Linked DNA regions of Homo sapiens: regions 2 and 3 are each linked to region 1. The links are contacts of gene promoters, found by promoter capture Hi-C in human tissues and cell types (Jung and others, 2019). All regions are on one chromosome and are shown on one strand. Each heading gives the region's core, a stretch centred on a gene start or on the middle of the fragment in contact. The rest is flanking DNA. Distances are from core to core; before and after follow the strand shown. Region 1 holds the start of RASL11B (RAS like family 11 member B). Region 2 has its middle 200 kb from the start of SPATA18. Region 3 overlaps LOC107986279 (a long non-coding RNA gene).

Region 1 (2,527 bases), core at 12-2,511:
AACTGGCTGAGGATCATAAAATTCTGTCAAATACCTGGTCAATTAAGTTCTGGCTGGAAGAGGGGGTCAAATTAGATGACTGACATGTGCGGATAAGGGCACTGGTTTATTTCACATTTTAGCCTTTAATGTGGGTGGGTACACAAAGCCACAGAGTTTGTTGCCATACCCCAACATAAAAGCCTCTGGGACAAGGTTGAAAGGGTAGCGGGGAGAGGGCCTTGGATAGCGGATGGGGTGGTTAACCCGCGACTCTGGTGACATTTTGCCATCAGCCGCTGGTGACATCTTGCCATCAGCTGCAGCTACAGAATGTTGCTCGCAGGAGGAATTTGGCCTGCCGTTGAAGATGTGTTTCTCAGATGAGACTGTAAGGGGCCGGAGCTTGGGATTTTAGGAGTGCAGGGCCCACCTCTTCCTTGGTATCAAGCCACTTAACTAAACTCTTGCGGTGTCTTATGACCAGGGACGAAGTGCGGGGCCCCTTCAGACGTCGCAGCTGGAGTAACTGTTTTCTTTCCATTTCACAGCTCTTGAAGGAGGTGTGACTGAGTGAGGCGCTGGAAAGCTTGTTCTATAATTACTTCTTGATCCGCTTCTAGGCGTGCTGTGCATGCGTCCGACCATGTGTGTTTGCGTTAGCTTGCGCCGTCGACAAGAGCCAGAGAACGTGGGTCTAGGATAAAACGTGGATGATATTTTTGCTTCAAATGTCACATTTTACGGGGGTCTAAAGGTCTTAGGCTGGAGTCTTTGCGGATGATTGCCAACTGTAGCTGAATCTATGAGCTGGGATGTACCCAAGCCAGTGCAATCGCTCCAAATCAGGGCGGGCGGCACTAAGCCGGGGAGCAAACACCGCTCCCGGCCCGCCCAGAGCAGACGCCCTAGGTTGGGGCTGCAGCGAGTGCGCGCGTGGGCTGTGGAGCCGGCGGAGGCAGCGGTCCGGAATGGCTCTGTGGAGGCTGCGCTCTCTTCCTGGCCCCGCAGCCACAGCAGCTGCCCCATGCTCGCGCGGCAGGACCTACCAGGCGCCCACCCTGGGCTGCGCCGCCTCGGACCACCCGCTGCTCCCCTCCGCCCGCTGCCTCTTCTCCCCGCGCCTCACGGGGCTCCGCACTGACTCCAGGCGCCTCCGGGGGCGTCGCGCGCGCGGAGCGGCGCCGGGGGCGGGGCCTCGTGTAGGGCGCCCCGGGATTGGCTGTGGGGAGAGGGGGCGGGGCCGGCCGCGGAGAAAACAGCCGGCGCGCCGCGCGAGTGCAGTCTGGGTCTGGAGCCTGAGCCCTGCGGAACCTCGGCGCTCGGCCCCACCCCGCCCGTACCTGCACTTATTTATTGTTGTTATTTCTTACCGCGGAGCCCCGCAGTCGGGTCCTCCCGCCCGCTCCCGCGCAGCGCTAGCATTCTCCAGTCCCTCAGTCCCTTCCCGCGCGGTGCGCCGCAGCCGAGGCGATGCGCCTCATTCAGAACATGTGCACCATCGCCGAGTACCCCGCGCCGGGCAACGCCGCGGCCTCCGACTGCTGTGTGGGCGCCGCCGGCCGCCGCCTGGTCAAGATCGCCGTGGTGGGCGCCAGCGGCGTGGGCAAGACCGGTGAGTCGTCGCGCTTAGCCCTGGGTCTGGTCTTGGACGACCCCTGACGGGAGTTGAGGCTGAACAAGGCGTGGGGAGCGGTGGGAGCTGCAGCCCGACCGCTCTCCGTCCCCGCGCAGGGAGCCGCTGCCCCTTGGGAGTGGGCTTAGCCGTTGTCTACGCCACCCGCCTGCTTCCACAGACGGGGGAAACAAGGATCAAGAATGGCCAGGCAGCTTTCTGGGGACCACCGGCACCGCCGCCATCAGAACTTTGGGGTGTTTGAGCCTCTGGCAATGCCTGGCACAGAAAGGGGAGTTAGTGAAGCTAGCCCCCCTGGGAGGTCTTGAAGGTTAGGAAGACATGGGTCTACTGGAAGGCTTAGGTGTGGCTCAGCCGGGCTCAGAGGAGGGGGTGGGCCCAGTGAGCCTTCCAGCTGCACAGAGCCATAATTCACGATGCCTTCTAGCCCCCTCCTTTTTGTCTGGAAAGAAGGGTCAAGGAGCTACAGGGTAGGAATTTCACTTGGTGGCCATCTATGGCTTTCTTTGGGAGAACTGTTTTCCAGGCAGGGGGTGGGGTGGAGAACAATCTAACTTCCAAGGTTAACACTTTGACGTTCTTTTTTCTGACGTGCAGCACTGGTGGTCCGGTTCCTCACCAAACGATTCATCGGTGACTATGAAAGAAATGCAGGTGAGACAATGCATTTGAGAAAAATTCTGTCCCATTGCAGGAGGACTGCGGTTCCCATTTTCCAGCGCTTCCCAGGGAGGTTCTTTCAGTGACAGTCCGAGCCTGAGGATCCCGCCACTTAAAACTTTCCCCAGTCCCCAGCCCTCCATGGCGCCCCCCTCCCATAACTACCATCTGGCCTCATTCCATTCCAAGCCCATTCATCATTTTATCAAGTGCCTGAAAGTATTCCCCTTGGTATGTTTTAACTATAGTGAC
Region 2 (2,527 bases), core at 18-2,517, 610 kb before region 1:
ATGGCCTTCTTTCCCAGTGGCAACCTTCATTCTTCACAAAGGTTGGTCTCCAGGCTTCCATGCCAGCAGGGTGCTCCAAAACCACCCCAGGGTTTTTCTTAAGGCCCCACTCTGTGTGGTTTTGGAGGCAAGGTTAGCACTTGTTCCATCTGTATCCTGTTAATTGCTCTAAAGCTGGAGCCTCATGGGGCTAGGTTCCCAATGAATGAGACATGCACATAAGTGCTCACATAGAAAATGAGTTTGGGATTCCTCCTGGTCCATTCTGTACCCTCAGTTGGAAGGCAAAATAAATCTATTTTTCTCCTGTCTTTGAAATTAGTCAATTAATTACTATAAAGCAGTGAACAAAGTGGTCCTCTGGAGGAATTCATGTAGCAAAAGAAGATGAAAGGACTGGGATGAGATAAGGACAATGGAAGAGGATGACAAGAGTCATCTTCATAATAGGACAAAATGTTATAAAGCTTTGACAGAGAGCTATTTCCTTAAGTAGCTATTAGTGTCACACAACTATTAATATGGAATTAAGAATATACAGCTGTAAACATGTGACATTATAATATACTAATGTAATTTAAATTAAAACAAAAATGGAATTTTAAATATATTAATAGAATATTGGTTTTAAACATGTCTACTTATACACTTGTTATATTGTTCTATATATTTTAAAAGACTGTACACTTAGAGGAATCCTTAGATGATTTTCAAGTCAGTGTGCTTCCTCTCTGCCACTTCTTTTTTTTTTTTTTTTTTCTGACACAGAGTCTCACTCTGTCGCCCAGGATAGCGTACAATAGTGTGATCTTGGCTCACTGCAACCTCTGCCTCCCGGGTTCAAGTGATTCTCCTGCCTCAGCCTCCCAAGTAGCTGGAATTACAGGTGCCCACCACCACATTTGGCTAACTTTTTGTATTTTTAGTAGAGATGGGGTTTTGCCATCTTGGTCAGGCTGGTCTCAAACTCCTGACCTCAGGTGATCCACCCACCTCGGCCTCCCAAAAAGCTGGTATTACAGGCGTGATCCATCGCGCTTGGCCTCTCCCACTTTCTTAGGGTCTAATTTTATGAGGTAAATCTCTTTCAGAGATAACCCTCCTAGGAAAATGAAAGAAGGAGGAAAGAGATCAAGAAGCAGTGGGTCTAAGAGGAACTGAAAAGTAAAGTTAACTCGCCATTGCCTTCCTCTTCTCTCAGGTATGGGGTACAGAGATCATGGAAGAAGGAGCCAAATGTGACTTATCTGAGAGCTTGTATGACTATTCCTTCTCACCCTTTAAATGATTAGTAGGCTATAAAGGAGTGTGCATTTTGGAGTAGGCTTTTTTTTTTTTTTTTTTTTTTCACTAAAAAAGAGCACAGAGAAGGAAGGATAAGGCTTAATGGGTGTGTTACCAAAACACCAGGAGTTTGGTCTAGGTCCTACTGCTGGCTTCACAGAAAGACAATCACTGAGGCAATGAGTATTGCAAAGGAAGAAATCTTTAATCAGGTCCTGTAGCCAAGGAGATGAAAGATCAGTCTCAAATCCATCTCCCTGCCTGACTAAAATTGCGGGTTTAAATAGCAGGGAAGAAATGTAACCATGTGTGGGAAGACAGGAATAAGGGCAGGGTAAGGAAGAGGAGTTGGTCAATAGGAAGCAGATGGTCAGTTAGGCAATCATGACGGGTGAGGGATCTGATGTCTCATTGTCCAAATGCAGTGATCTAATGAGTTTCAGCTCCTTGATACTATCTAGGAGTCCTGATGGTTGGTTTTCTGAGAAAGGAACTCAGATAAGAAAAATTAAGCTTTCTTAAGTTTTAAGACTGGGAGGATCAATTTCTATGTTTATTCAAAGGAATCATAACCATCAGTTCTATGGGACATGAGTTGGTTTCAGATTTATTATCAAAGAAAGGGCAGATAGGCAGGAAGGTGGTTTGGTTGGACACATTTGGGCTTTGGGTGGAACTGGTCTTAGGATGTTTCCAGAAGAGATTAGCATTTGAGTCAGTAGGTTTGAGTAAAGAAGATCTGCCCTCACCAAGGTAGGTGAGCATCAACCAATCTACTGAGGACCTGATAGAGCTAAAGGCAGAGGAAGGGCACATTCTCTCTGTCTCTCTCCCCTTGAGGGGGCCTCTTCCATCTTTTTCTGCCCTCAGACATCAGAACTCCAGGTCTTGGGCCTTTGGCACTGGGACTTACAGCAGCAGGCACCCCAGTTCGCAGACCTCCTTATACCATCAGGTCCCCTGGTTCTCAGGCCTCTGGTCTCAGACTTAATTGTACCTCTAGCTTCCCTGGTTTTCCAGCTTGCAGATTGTGGGACTTCTCAGCCTTTGTAGTTGCATGAGCCAATTTCCATAATAAATTTCCTCTTATATCTATAGTCAGCTGAAGAATGACAAGGTTCATAAATAAAAGGACAGCTTTATTTTTCACAAAGGATGGCAGCCTGCAGGGTGGTCGTTCTGACAGGCTGGGAAGTATATGCTCCAGCTAGGAGCCAAAAACAGGTACTCCGAGGTTGAGAAT
Region 3 (2,527 bases), core at 8-2,507, 520 kb before region 1:
AAATCTTAAAGCTCTGAAATAATCTCCTTTGACTCCATGTTTCACATCCAGGCTCCACTCATGTAAGGGGTGGGCTCCAAGGCCTTAGGCTGCTCTGCCCCTATGGCTCTTCAGGGTACAGTCCCTGCAGCTGTTTGTATGGGCTGACATTGATTGCCTGCAGGCACATGGTGCAAGCTGTCAGTTGATCTACCATTCTGGGACCTGGAGGGCAGTGGCCCTCTTCCCACAGCTCCACTAGGCAGTGCTCCAGTGGGGACTCTGTTTGAGGGATCCAACCCCACATTTCCCCTCCACACTGCCCTACTGGAGGTTTTTCATGAGGGCTCTGCCCCTGCAACAGACTTCTGCATGGACATCCAGGTATTTCCATACATCCTGTGAAATCTAGGTGGAGATTCCCCAACCTCAACACTAGCTTTCTGCACACACACACATACACACACACAGAGAGAGAGAGAGAGAGAGAGACCCAACAGCACGTGGAAGCCACCAAGTCTTGGGGCTTGCATCCCCTGAATCAATGAACTAAGTTGTACCTTGGCCCCTTTTAGTCTACAGTGGGAGCTGGAGCAGCTGGGATACAGGGTATCATATCCTGAGGCTTCACAGAGCGACTGGGCTCTGGGACTGGACCATGAAGGTAATTTTTTCCCCAAGCCTCAGGGCTTGTGATGGGAGGAGCTCAGCAGAGATCTCTGAAATATCCTGGAGACATTTTCCCTATTGTCTTGGCTATTAACATTCAGCTTCTCTTTAGTTATGCAAATTTCTGCAGCCGTCAGGCTGCAAATTTTCCAAACTGTTATGCTCTGCTTTCCTTTTAAACATAAGTTCTAATTTCAGACCATCTCTTTGTAAATACGTATGACTATGTGAACCCTGAGTAACTGAGATAGGTCTCAGTTAATTTAGAAAGTTTATTTTGCCAAGATTGAGAACACTCACCCATGACACAGCCTCAGGAGGTCCTGATGACATGTGCCCAAGGTGGTCGGGACACAGCTTGGTTATATACATTTTATGGAGACATGAGACATCAATCAATATATGTAAAATGTACATTGGTTCAGTCCAGAAAGGCAGAACAACTCAAGTAGGGAGGGTGCTTCCAGGTCACAGGTAGATGAGAGACAAACCGTTGTATTTTTTTGTTTCTGATTAGCCTTTCCAAAGGTGGCAATCAGGTATGCATTTACCTCAGTGAGCAGAGAGATAACTTTAAATAGAATGGGAGTCAGGTTTGCCCTAAGTAGTTCCCAGCTTGACTTTTCACTTTTTAACTTAGTAATTTTGGGGCCCCAAGATTTACCTTCCTTTCACAACTTACACTGATAGGGGCAGTCAGGCCACATCTTCAATGCCTTGCTGCCTAGAAATTTCTCTTGCCAGATATCCTAAATCATCTCTCTCAAGTACAAAGTTCCACAGATCTCTAGGGTAGGGGCAAAATGCCACCAGTCTCTTTGCTAAAGCAAAGCAAGAGTGACCTTTACTACAGTTCTCAATAAGTTCCTTATCTCCATATGAGACCACTTCACCCTGGATTTCACTGTCCACATGAGTGTTATCATTTTGGTCACAACCATTCAGCAAGTCTCTAGAAAGTTCCAAACTTTCCCACATCTTCCGGCTTCTGAGTGCTCCAAACTGTTCCAACCTCTGCCCATTACCCAGTTCTAAAGCCGTTTCCTCATTTTCAGTTATCTTTATAACAATGTCCCACTTTCCTGGTACCCATTTTTTGTATTAGTCTATTTTCACACTGCTATAAAGAACTACATGAGACTGGATAATTTATGAAGAATAGAGGTTTAATTGACTCAAAATTCTGCAGGCTTAACAGGAAGCCTGTTAAGAGGCCTCGGGAAACTTATAATCATGGTGGAAGGAGAATTTTCTTTCCAGACTCACTTTTACTTCCGTGGTCAATTTTAAATTTTTGATTGGCACCAAGTAAACAGTTACCATTTCCCTGATTATTCCTGACTTCTGAGAGAGTTCACATTTTCAACATGGTAATCAAGAATTTGCCTAATAATCTTCGAGCAGACCAAGACTTCCTGCAGGGATCTGCATAGCTGAGGGCCCCCATCACCACTCCTTCTTGCTAATTGTGTTTGTTCATGTGTATGTGCTTAATTTGCATTATAATATCTCATTCATTCTGCTATTTAGTTGGATATCAGCAGTAAACTTCCACAATTGAGCCATTGGGCTTGCTCTCCCCTCATAGCCTCTTTCAAATAATGACCACTGAACTTACAATTTCATATTCATGGATTTACATCCAGATGTACATCTTATTGGCATGCAATGCTGACCTCTGTTCTCCTACTATACATATTTCTTTTGAAGAATACCCAGTCATTTTTCAAAATGGACAATGAAATGTCCTACCCATGGTAGGAAAATGAAATCCTAAGGCCCCCAACAAATTGAATGAACACCATGTTGGCCAAAGGGACCCCAGAGAAACCTTGAAAACTGAGTTCCCAGCCATGATGGGATGGGAGGTCAGACATAC

What was found. Contacts are between HindIII fragments. The study calls those that stand out against the background at their distance.
Region 2: a fragment that was not itself captured here is called in contact with the fragment with the promoter of RASL11B in region 1 in 2 of the 25 tissues and cell types used here (mesendoderm cells and thymus).
Region 3: a fragment that was not itself captured here is called in contact with the fragment with the promoter of RASL11B in region 1 in 2 of the 25 tissues and cell types used here (H1 embryonic stem cells and mesendoderm cells).

The regions. Positions count from the first base shown.
Region 1 is chr4:52,861,056-52,863,582 of GRCh38, forward strand. It overlaps RASL11B (RAS like family 11 member B), which reads left to right and starts at 1,262. Exons shown (of 4, transcript NM_023940.3): 1 at 1,262-1,594; 2 at 2,213-2,269. The coding sequence starts at 1,453. It overlaps LOC124900700 (a long non-coding RNA gene), which reads right to left and starts at 1,150. Exons shown (of 2, transcript XR_007058115.1): 1 at 1,029-1,150; 2 at 94-676. RefSeq lists silencers at 826-1,315, 1,287-1,581. The HindIII fragment of the contact is 6,378 bases long and covers 1-2,527 here.
Region 2 is chr4:52,250,414-52,252,940 of GRCh38, forward strand. No RefSeq gene overlaps it. Among named protein-coding and RNA genes, the nearest start is that of SPATA18, 200 kb to the left of the region's middle. The HindIII fragment of the contact is 4,064 bases long and covers 1-2,527 here.
Region 3 is chr4:52,341,661-52,344,187 of GRCh38, forward strand. The region is part of intron 1 of LOC107986279 (a long non-coding RNA gene); the gene reads left to right. Among named protein-coding and RNA genes, the nearest start is that of SPATA18, 290 kb to the left of the region's middle. The HindIII fragment of the contact is 5,584 bases long and covers 1-2,527 here.